Regions from separate parts of the Homo sapiens genome. Here region 2 is linked to region 1. The links are contacts of gene promoters, found by promoter capture Hi-C in human tissues and cell types (Jung and others, 2019). All regions are on one chromosome and are shown on one strand. The core of a region is centred on a gene start or on the middle of the fragment in contact, and the rest is flanking DNA. Distances in the headings are between cores, read along the strand shown. Region 1 holds the start of RBM17 (RNA binding motif protein 17). Region 2 overlaps FBH1 (F-box DNA helicase 1).

Region 1 (5,897 bases), core at 590-3,089:
ATTAAAAAAAAATTTTTCCCATACCTCCATCTGACGCCCTTGTCAGTTTAATCTTTCCATTCAATCCCACCCTCTGGCTGTTACCAAAATGCCATAGGCTAGTATTGCAAACACAGTCCACTACAGTCACCTGTAATTTAGGCGAATAACAGAACTTCCTTCACTATTGACTATTATGAAAGGTTTGAGAGATGACTAGCCTGGGATCATCTGTTCCCTGCTGGGAGGAGGTCTGAAAAATTCATAGGCAGGGGAGAATGGGAAGGTAAGTTAAAACAAACCAGGTAAAAAGAAATCCACTTTAAATAAAGCTGCATTTGGAAGTGTACAACAATTCTCTCAAGAGCCTCCAGAAAGGCTGCCTTTGGTTCCGCAGAGCTCCACAACCGCACAACCTGCTCTGTTATAAACTGGACAGCACGCAGCACCTTGCTTAACTAACTCTAAAAATAAAGCCCTCTCGTTTAGCTCACTAAACTGTTACCCCATATTCCCTAAAAGCTGTCATTACGATCAAAATGTCTGCAGCCTTTACAACTAAAAATGTGGAAACTTGTGTTGCATCCTTTTAAAAACTCCATCTGCTGCGGGGAGCCAGTGCACATCTACCCATCTATTTGAGTATATGCGAATCTTGCCCTTATCTAGAATATCCTATTTCCCATCCATATGCCTGGCTCTAGCAAAATAAGGACCCTCAATGGCGCTTCTTTACTGCTTCTCAAGAAACCTCCATGTTCTGACCTGACTACTCCTGGAAACACAGCAGCCCCTCCTCAAACCTTTCTTTCTGCCTAACCTGCAGCTTCCAGAACGCACTACGGGGCTTCGCTTCTGCTACTTTCGCACTTACTTCCTCCGCCGGCAGCCTTTTTCCCACCTCTCACATCTAACAACGTACCTTCAAGACTCAACATAAGCATGACCTCCTCTCTCAAGAGAGGTCCTTCCAGACCCCACTTGCGTTTCTCAAATCAACCCGGGCCTGGGTTTTCACGCCTGCTTTCCCAGAAACCAAACTCCTGCAAGCAGGGGCAGAACCTCATTCCACCTGCATTCTCCGATCATTACACATTCTCGGGGCAAGAGGCGAAGCTCAAAGACTGCCTGGGGTCGGACGTGAGCGCTGAAACACCGCTCAAACTGCACGAGCCGAGGCGACGCCGGGGTTAGGGCTGCATTCCTGTCCCGGGCAGCTCCGGAGTCTGAGAAACGCCAACGTCTGCACTCCCAGTTCTGAGACCCCGGGAGGAACCGGCTCCGAGCCCCAGAGAGGGGCAACCGTGCAGGGCCAGGGGGGACACGCTACGGGCTACTCGGTTCTGGTGACCAGACAATTTCGTCAGGATGCGGTGCACGAGACGGAGAAGAAACGCTCTTCAGCACCAAACAGCCCGAGGCAGACATGAGGAGGAGGAGGAGGAAGGGAAGAGGGAGAAGGTCAGGGCCAGGGTCACCAGAGGCGGCGGCGGGCGGAGGGTACCGGGCCGCAGCCGCGTGGAGAGACCAGCGCCCGCCGCGGGGACTGAGACCCTCGGAGGCTCCGGCTGCGCTGGCCCGGCCTCCGCCCCTCGCGACGGGCCTAAAGCCGCGGGCTTGCGTCTAGCGCCTCCCGGGAAGGCGCGCCCGCCTCAGGTCCCGCCAGGCCACCCACCCGGGGCCGCCGGGGCGCCACTTACCCGGCCCGCCCGGCCGACTCTGCCCATGAGCCGCGCCGGCGGCAGAGCGGAGCCGGGCGGCACTCCGCGGAAACCCGCCAGCGGCAGGAGGCCTCGGCGGCGCCCACCCTTCGCTGAGTCCTCAGGGCGCTCGGCGGCGCGGGGTCAGGGAGCGCGGGCTGCCGGGAGAGCGCGCCCGCGCCTGCGCCCCGCCTGCGCCTGCGCCTGCTTCGGCCTCTGCGCCTGCGCCGAGGGCGCCTTGCCGCACTGCCCCCTGCCCGCGGGAGGACCGCACTGCACGCTCCCCTCCGCCGGCGTCTTCTTACCATCAAGAGGTGTCGCCCTGGCGCACATTTTCGAAATTCCACAAGGCTTGGGGAGCGCGGCAGCGCCCCCAGATGGTGAGGAGGAGAAGTGGTCCGAGGCCGGGCTTTCTGATAGGGGAGGTGGGGGAAGTCCCTCCAGGCCCCTCGATCTCATTCATTCAAAGCCACTCCTATATAAGCAAAAAGTTGAAAATAAGTCTGCATAGGCCAGATGCTGCAAAAGGATGGCAAGGAGCACGAGGTTAAGCGTAAGATTATGGAAACAGATGCCGCGATTAGGGGTACAGAAAAGAATGTCAATGCTATAAAGCCTCGGTCTTTAAAAACGACGTCGCTGACAGAAGCAGGGAGGGAAAGGGAAAGTGGGACTTCGGGTAAATATGATTTTTACATCTGTAATTAATTGGGTGTCAAATAGAGTTCAAGCCGATAAATCAAATAGTAGAGATTTAAGCAGACGTCTTAGTCCGAAGGAGTATACCAAGAAAGTTACTATAATCCATTAAAATCCAGTCATTAAGAAAACGGGAAAAGGGGGAAAAAAGAAATACAGTGGAGAGACAAAAGACAATCTAAAGAAATAGAGGATTAAGGACGTCATGGGATGGTATGATTCTGAGGGTAACCCAGAACAAAACTACAAAGCTTTCAAATAATCCACACATACATGCACCCACACATACATGCATGCACACACACACACACACACACAAAACCACAGCAAAAAAAATATATATATAGGGAAATATTTTAAAAAGTTACAAAACAGAAAGCGTAACCAAACTATATGACAGAACAAGACCAAATGTCTCACAAGAAGAAATATAGACCTAAGCTTACCTACTAAAAAACTACAATCTCAGATAGGAGCACAAACCATCATGCAACTCAGTGTTGTATACAAGAAAGTGCTAACGTTATTCTGAGTTTGAAAATACAAGATTGGAAAAGATATACCAGGAATATGCAAAAAAATTAAAAAAATCAGGAATCACAAACCGCTTACTACAAAGTTGATTTCAGGGCAAAAAGCATTAAGTAAGATTAAGAAGGACATTTTATAATCTTGAGGAGCACAATTCACAATCAAGAAAAAAATAGGAAAAATAGGAAAATCTTTGCACCAAATCACATAATCTCATTATTCATAGCAAACACTGTAGGAGTGAGTGAATAGACAGAAATAATTGGCACACTCCTTGCCAGACGAAGAGTACAAAAAGTAAATGGGGATTGAGAAGACCTAAAAATACAATTCCTATGATAGATCTAATATATCAAACACTGTCCCCTAAATAGACATTACATCTTTTCCAGTGTCTAAGGAATATTCACAACAATTAGTCATATTTTAAACCACAGAGAAAAATCTTAACATAGTCCAATAAGTAGAATCATATCGGTAATATTATCTGCAGCAATTCAATAAAAGTAGAAATTAATGAAAAAACAGAAAATAAAACATGCCTACCCCTTGAAAATTTTTAAATGCTTAAATAACACTTGGACTAAAAAGGAAAACAAAATCAAAATAACATAATATCTAGAAAAGTATGAAAATGACATACTCATGGGATTTAGCTCAGAGAGTACTAAGAGGAAAATTCATGGTTTTAAGTTTTTGTATCAATTAAAAACTTGGAAAAAGCTAAATGAATTAAGCACTTGTGCAAGAAACTGGAAATAAAATAAAAATGTGAGAAGCAGAAGGACGTACTTGGTCAATAAAAGAAGCAGAAAGTAATAGCGTGTAAACAGAAAAAGGAAGAAGGGCAAAGATAGAAGGTGTCTAGACTGGGTCTCTCCCCACCCCGTGATCAAAGCACCGGTGGGGGTGCAAAAGCCCTGATTAGGAGGTCCAGAGCTGCAGGACTTCCTCCAGGTTGAACCTGCTGTCTACCTGTACTCCCTAATCTGCTTGGCGTCTCCACTCTGCAGTCTGAGACCACTCCTTCCTCCCTTTTTGGTTGAAAATTTGTGCCTTTGTTCCCAAATCATTCCATCATACATACACAAGTAACTTTTTGGTTTACAGACCATAGATGCAATCACATCCATTGTTTAGGAATTTTCTAGTTTAACTTCCAGGAGGAAAACTGCCTTACTTCATTTCCTAGTACGTGAGCAGTCTCATGCTTGCCTCCATTTCCTGTCAATAGTAACAAATATCATCTTTATTTTATGCACCGAGAATCCAAAGCTTAACCCAATGGGGGAACAGAACCCAGGCCATGCAACTATCAGAAAGCGCACACAAAACGGTGGAGCTTTAGAAGAGGGACAAGACAGACGCGCTGGAGCGCCCCCTCGGGGCTGCAGAGCAAACATCGGTAGTGACTCCTGCGTAAACAAGTCGTGTGATCTGCTCCAGCTGTGCTCAGCGCCTGGCAGGAGGCTGGCAGGCAGCAGATGGTAGAATTCATCGGAAACTGGGAATTAGCAGGGCAGATGTTCCAGGAAGAAAGAAGATAAGGGCGGTGTTTGGGCTGGCAGGAAAGGCTGGGTGAAATGCTACAGTATGCAGCATGGATGGAACCGGGGGACCCCGAAACAGGAAAAGAAAGGGGTGTGGGCCCTGGAGGGAAGACAAGCTAGTTAAGACAATTTGATCAGATTATAATTTGATCAAAAACAAGTATTCCCAAGGATTCTGTGTGTAGGGATGCTTTCGGTGCACCGTGGAGAATGATTTTTGTCTCCTTTTTTGTATCTTTTTTTTTTTTTTTTTTTTTGAGACGGAGTCTTGCTCTTGTCACCCAGGCTGGAGTGCAATGGAGTAATCTCAGCTCACTGCAACCTCCGCCTCCCGGGTTCAAGCGATTCTCCTGCCTCAGCTTCCTAAGTAGCTGGGATTACAGGTGCCCGCCACCATGCCCGGCTACTTTTTGTATTTTTAGTAGAGACGGGGTTTCACCATGTTGGCCAGGCTGGTCTCGAACTCCTGACCTCCGGTGATCCGCCCACCTCGGCCTCCCAAAGTGCTGGGATTACAGGCATGTATATCTCTAAGCAGCTTCGGCCATTTCAGAAATCTTTCCTTCCTTCCTTCCTTCCTTCCTTCCTTCTTTCCTTCTTTCCTTCTTTCCTTCTTTCCTTCTTTCCTTCTTTCCTTCTTTCCTTCTTTCTTTCTTTCTTTCTTTCTTTCTTTCTTTCTTTCTTTCTTTCTTTTTCTTTCGATGGAGTCTCTCTCTTGTTGCCCAGGCTGGAGTGCGATGGTATGATCTGGGCTCACTGCAACCTCCACCTCCTGGGTTCGAGCAATTCTCCTGCCTCAACCTCCTGAGTAGGTGGGATTACAGACGCCTGCCACCACGCCCTGCTAATTTTTGTAGTTTTGGTAGAGATGATATTTCACCATGTTGGCCAGGCTGGTCTCAAACTCCTGACCTCAAGTGATCCACCCGCCTTGGCCTCCCAAAGTGCTGGGATTACAGGTGTGAGCCACCATGCCCGGCCCATCTCACAGATTTTTTAAAGTTTTTTCACTTTTTTTGTCTTTCTAAATCATTCTCTACAGTTATTCCTGCTCTGTAAGGTTTCTAATAGTAAAAATATAGGAACAAACTAGCGAACAATAACAACTTAGGGAAATTCAATTATGTTGAGAGACAAATAATTTACATGGAAGGATCCCATTTTTGTTTTAAAAATTTATAAATATATACAAAGTATCTATAAGGTATTTGCCAATATGGCTGGCTCCAGATAGGGATTATCAGGATTCTTTATTTAAATTTTTTTGCTTGTTTGCCTTTTTTATCTCTGAGTAATATGCTTGCATTGCTTTTGTAATAAAAATAATGAAAGAAGGCTGGGCGCGGTGGCTCACGTTTATAATCCCAGCACTTTGGGAGGCCAAGGTGGGTGGATCACTTGAGGCCAGGAGTTCCACACCGGCCTGGCCAACATGGTG
Region 2 (5,858 bases), core at 895-3,394, 170 kb after region 1:
CACAGTTGACATTATAACCCACAACCAGGTGTGTGATCACGTGTAATGACACATGGTACAGCTAGTAAGTGGATTTAAGAGAGGTGTAGAGAACCACTTACTTTATATCATGCCAGTGTGTATGATATTCCAAAAATACTACTCTTACAACAATGACCATGGCTAAATTATGTTATATCTACCAGACCAAATATTATAAGGTCATCAAAGTACTAATGAAAGAAAATATGCCTATGTGTTGAGTGAAAAACAGCATCCATTTCTGTGTACCCTACAATTGCAATTATGCAAAAATACACATCTATAAGGACAAAGACAAAAATAGCAAAAATGAGAATTATTATATGAAATACTGGGATTATGTGTTCTTTTTTTAGGTTCCAAAATTTCTATACCATTGTTATATAGTCTTTATAAACAAAAAACTTAAAACACCTTTTGATTATGATTCACTACTATATTCACTGAGTGCCTAATGCATAGTAGGCTCTTGAAAATCTTTCCATAAATGAATGAGTGAATATCTTTTTATCATATAACTGTGCTTCAGGGTTAAAAATGCTGTAAACATGCCACTGAATCCTTCTAACTCCCTGTGAAACAGGTAAGGCAAGGCATTATTTTATCTGAGATGGAGAGAATGAGGCATACAGAAGTTGTGACTTGCCCCAAGCCACACACGGTTAGTGACCAGTCAGAACTAGAGCCTAGGTGTGTACTCTGCGTGTTGTCAGCTCAGCTGTTCTCACACTAATGACAACACATGACTAGAAAAGCTTCCAGTAACCCGCGGCCTCACTGGCATTGCCAAGGGAAGAAGGGCATTCATTGTTAAAAGAGTGGAAACTAAGGTCCCCAGCCCTTCTTGTGTCTGCCTTTCCAGGAATGTTTCGCTGGCATAATCAGAATGGCCTGGGATAGAGACCACTCATGGTGCAGCCTGGTGGAAAGAGTCAAAAACCCAAATGCTTTCTTGCATGATAATCCCAAGGAAGGTGAACATTTCCATTGGGTATGTTCGTCTACAACGTTTCTGTGCATGAAGTGGTCAACAGAAATGTACTCTTACCCCAATCAAATGTATCCTTGAAGGGAATTCCCCTTCCGTCACCCGTACGGCCTCATCAAACACGTTGGCGTTGGTCCGGGACAACAAGGCCACTTGCCCCTTTGCGTCACCTCTAATGCCACCTTTAGGGAGAGAGCACAAACTCTATGGCAAATTGAAATAAAGAGGAAAACTTTTGTAACACAAAAGAGAAGAGTAACTAAAAGCCTTACTCTGATGGTTTCCTCCAACCAAAGTCTTTTTCCTGACTCTCTTGCAAACATCCAAGATAGTAGCTCCCACATAAGCTATTTCCACACCAAACCGAAAACTCTGAAAACAACAAGACAGAGGGAGTCAGCAGCCCGCCCTGTGGTGTGTCCGTGCATTTCCATCACTGCTGCCACAGCCTGGCCGGGCCAGACCCTACAAGTTGTTCCTGACCCCCCGCATGGAAAGCGAACTTCACAGGCTCACTTTCAAGGTCCTTCACAACTCAGCAGTCTTTATTTTCCATTATTCTCAACACCAATAGTAAATTTTTCTTTTAAGCAAATCTACCCTTTTCTCCAAATCAAATCTAGTGAAGTCTAAATCATACAAAAGATGAAGATCGGGTAAGGAGGGCTTCTCCCCTTGCCTTTGAGATCCCTCTCCACACTACCTTTAAAACTACTGCCCTGCACCAACCAGCCATGGCAGAAGCACTAGCACCTGCACATTGTCCGTGCTGCCCTGCCTCAGCCCACGCGGTTTTCTGTCTGACTTTCATCCACCAAAGTCACTTCCTAACCTTCAAAACTCAGCCCAAGACCCTGCTTCCTTCGCCCCTCCAGCTGGCAAGATATCATTCTTCCCTACACTCGGGGTGTGTACAGCCTTTTTCCATGCACACACAACTTCATGTGCTTTGGTGAATAGCAGTAACAGTCAAACGAAAACTAGACTTTAAACAAACACTACTTTGTTGCTATAAAACTACTCTGAGTGAACCATAACCGAAATTATAACATAAATATCCATGAGTTCATATTAAGATAGATAAATGATTGAATATTTAAATAGATGGGAGAGAAAAAACAAATCTCCTTTACAGAAGAATTCCAAATAATTTGGGAAGATTCTCCAACACTTACTCCTTGAGTGTGGACTGCATATAGGGACTTCCTTCCAAAGCATCCAGTAAGGAAAGGATGAAAAAAAGTGGAACTCTACAGTGAAGAAACCTGACAAACACTACATCAGCCAGGTGGTCAAGGTCAACATCAAGTCATGAGCCATGGTGACAGTATGCACCTCAACACCATGTGATGAAAATGGCGCTTCACCTCTGTGGTCTTCCTCCCAGAACCCAGGACTCTAGCCTAACCATGAGAAAAGACATTAGACAAATCCCAGCACAGGGGCAGCCTACAAATGCCTGACTGGAACTTCTGGAAAATGTGAAGGTCACATCAGAAATAGGGAAAGTCTGAGCAACTGTCACAGCCAAGAAGAGCCTCATGACACATGGTTACATGTAATGTGGGATCCTGGATGGGCTCCTGAAGTCACAAAAGACATTATTTCAAAACTAAGGAAATGCAAATGAACCATGGACTTCAGTCCATAATAATGTATCAATGTTGGTTCATTATCGTGACAAGTGTTCCACATTAATATAAGACGATAAGATGTTAGTAATGGGAAACTGAGTACAGGATATATGGGAACTCTCCTCTCGATTTTTCTGTAAATCTGAAACTGTTCTAAAAAAATACCATCTATTAAAAGAACAAATCACCTCTGCAGTGACGCTACCCTAAATCACCACAGCAGTAGGAGCTCAAGGGAAGAGTCACAGAGGCGTCTACGGAACTTTCAATAACATCACAAAACACAGCACAGTTGATACTTTCATCCAAGTGAGACATCTCTTCTAATCAGAAATAAGTTTCTTAAAAGCAGTGGTTCTCGAACTGCTGGTCTCAGGATGCTTCACACTTAAAAATCACACTTAAAAAGCCTCCAAAGAGCTTTTATTTACATGAGCTCTATCTATCTATATTTACCATATTATAAATTTTAATTCATTTAAAAATAACTATTAAAAACTATTTTTTTTTAAGACAGAGTCTCATTCTGTCACCCAGGCTGGAGTACAATGGTGCGACCTCGGCTCACTGCAACCTCTGCCTCCTGGGTTCAAGTGATTCTCCTGCCTCAGCCTCCTGAGTAGCTGACACTACAGGCGGGAGCCACCACACCTGGCTAATTTTTGTATTTTTAATAGAGACAGGGTTTTACCATGTTGGCCAGGCTGGTCTTGAACTCCTGACCTCAAGTGATCTGTCCTTCTTGGCCTCCCAAAATGCTGGGATTACAGGCATGAGCCACCATGCCCAGCCAAAAGCCTCTTATATGATGACATAAAGAACATATTTTTTGAAACATATTTCCGAGAACAAAAAAAAATGCAGCAAGAAGAGTGGCACCATGTTCCATTTTTGCAAATCTCTTCAATGCCTGGCATAACAGAAGACTGCTGGCTTCCTGTGTTCACATCTGCATTGCCTGCTGAGATATACTGTCTTGGCTGACACACATGAAGAAAATTCAACCTCACACAGACATGTGATTGGAAAGGAAGGAGCGCATAATAAACTTTTCGCATAATCAAGGACACTGTGAGTTGTCACATTCATTATGGGAGAGTTTGCCAACATTTTAATTTCACTTGAAAGCAAAGATGTTACTTTTGACAACAAACACTGTCAGTTATTTTCCCTGAAGTCGCAGCTTGTTTCACTTGTCTTTGAAAAAGTGCCAAATACACAAGTCTGAACAACCAGCGCTGGTCTAACAACTGTTCTAAGCACAAATGTACAAGGCGGCAGCAGCCATCGGTTCACAGTTCAGCCGCAGCAGCTCTTCCTCAGACGACCGCTGTGCACACACCTCTTATGAAAACAGTGTGACTTGGCAGACCCCTGAGAACCACACTTTGAGAACCATGGCTTAGAAGCAAGGATTTGCTAGATCTGGTGAGCCTGGCATACCACCTTTCACAGGGCCTGGCACGTAAGACATTGGGAGAGAGATGCAATGCCTCCCATGCAGAGTGCGCACTTACCTGCGTGAGATAGAAGACGTGGGTGTGGGGCACTGTGAACAGGGCGTTGACCGCACCCCGGAAGGTATAGATCTGCTGGTGCGGGTCCCCTACAAAGATTTTCCCACATGGCTGAGACAGAACTATGTTCATGATAGCTGTAACCAACGAGAGGAAAAGTGAGAAACCTTGAGGCCTCCACCCCAGGCAGCAAAAAGAAAAGGACAAAAACACTTCCACGAAGCTAAGCCAGGGCACACTGGACCTCACGGTCGCCTTTTCCTGTAGGACAGGCACACTCCATCAAAAGCAGCCATTTTATAATGGACAAAAGAAACAGTTTCTGGTGCTAGGAATGCAGATTATGTTTCGCCTTGGATGAATTGTTGGAATATAAGAAAACAACACAGGCAAATCTAAAATGAGGCAGTGTCTTCTCTAATATTATAGCACTCAAAATTGACCTACAAAGTCAGACGGATAACACTGTCTGTTCTCTCCTAGCCACTTGAGAAGTAGACAACACAAGCTTTTCCCTGTCAATGGACGATCTCTTCCCACAGAGCATGAGTCTAGGTCCCTGTCGTCTGCTGGTCTACAACTTGGTCAACATGTTAAGAACAACCTAAGCAAAACCTATGGTGACAGAGAAATCTGCTTGGGTGAGGGGAAGGGGCAGCTTGAAATCCTAAGGTAAGTATGAAGATCCTCTTCTTTATCACAAATAATAATAATCAACTTAGTTCACACAGGTGTCCTCTTACATAATCATGGCGCTGTTTCTACGTATTTGACACTACTGATGTCCTGAACAGTGTATCACCTGGTGTGCAGTCCTGGGCCTCATCCACAAAGATGGCGTCAAAAGAGGCCAGCGAAGGCTTGCTCAGCTGCCAGAGTTTCAAGTAGCCTAAAATAAGGAGAGACGCAGGAGTTGTAACGCCAGGAAGGCAGTCCCATTGGCCAGTCCCCGCCATTCGGCAGCCGCCTACCGTCATGAGTCATCTGGTGCGCCTCTTCTGTGCACTCCCCCAGCTTCCGCATGTTATCCCAGAGGCGGCTCGCTTCAAGGACACCATTCTAGGAAGTAAAGCATATGGTAACCCAGAGTTTGAGACCCTGGCAAAGGCAGCACCCTGCGGTCACACTGTCAACTCCCATACAGCAGTGGAGCCAGGGCATCCTCACAGAAGGGGGACCGCAGACACCACCCTAACCTCCTGGGTCTCCTCAACAGCCTCTCCACGCCAGAGGGTCTCCAGTGCTGAGACAGGAAGCAGCCGGGCCGTGCCATGCCCGTGACAGGACAGAGATCATAACAGTTAGGTGAACCAGAAAAGGCCAAATTGTTCTTCTAGATTTATGACTGATGCTTAATTCACAAAAACAATGGCACATGATTGAAAAGACTTGATGAAAAAAAGAAACAGACTTTCCCACTAGCAAAATCTATTCCATAGAACCAATAACCCAAGAAAATCAGGAGAGATTCCAGCCTTCAGTTAAGATCAGTTTTGAGGTCCAGGAGCCCCAGTGACAAGCTCTTATAAACTGAGGCGGGTCGTTCCATGTCTGCCTTCTCTGTTAAATGGGAGGACTATTCCGAGGCTTAAGTGAGATGGTCACCAGTGTCCTTCACAGGAGAAAATACCCAACAATTCACAGCCATCACCATGGGCCTACAGCCTCACCCTCCCACCTTCAACCTCCTATGACCAG

The links. The method cuts DNA at HindIII sites, captures the fragments that hold promoters and counts their contacts. A contact is called where the count stands out against the background at its distance.
Region 2: a fragment that was not itself captured here is called in contact with the fragment with the promoter of RBM17 in region 1 in 3 of the 25 tissues and cell types used here (IMR-90 fibroblasts, liver and mesendoderm cells).

Annotation. Positions count from the first base shown.
Region 1 is chr10:6,084,976-6,090,872 of GRCh38, reverse strand. RBM17 (RNA binding motif protein 17) reads right to left here and starts at 1,839. Exons shown (of 12, transcript NM_032905.5): 1 at 1,680-1,839. RefSeq lists silencers at 1,108-1,167, 1,438-1,527, 1,538-1,977 and enhancers at 343-1,181, 2,138-2,187. The HindIII fragment of the contact is 7,744 bases long and covers 1-3,502 here.
Region 2 is chr10:5,916,781-5,922,638 of GRCh38, reverse strand. It overlaps FBH1 (F-box DNA helicase 1), which reads right to left. Exons shown (of 21, transcript NM_178150.3): 11 at 5,132-5,219; 12 at 4,963-5,049; 13 at 4,161-4,297; 14 at 1,282-1,381; 15 at 1,070-1,191. Among named protein-coding and RNA genes, the nearest start is that of FBH1, 29 kb to the right of the region's middle. RefSeq lists a silencer at 3,567-3,767 and an enhancer at 4,549-5,748. The HindIII fragment of the contact is 6,688 bases long and covers 1-5,488 here.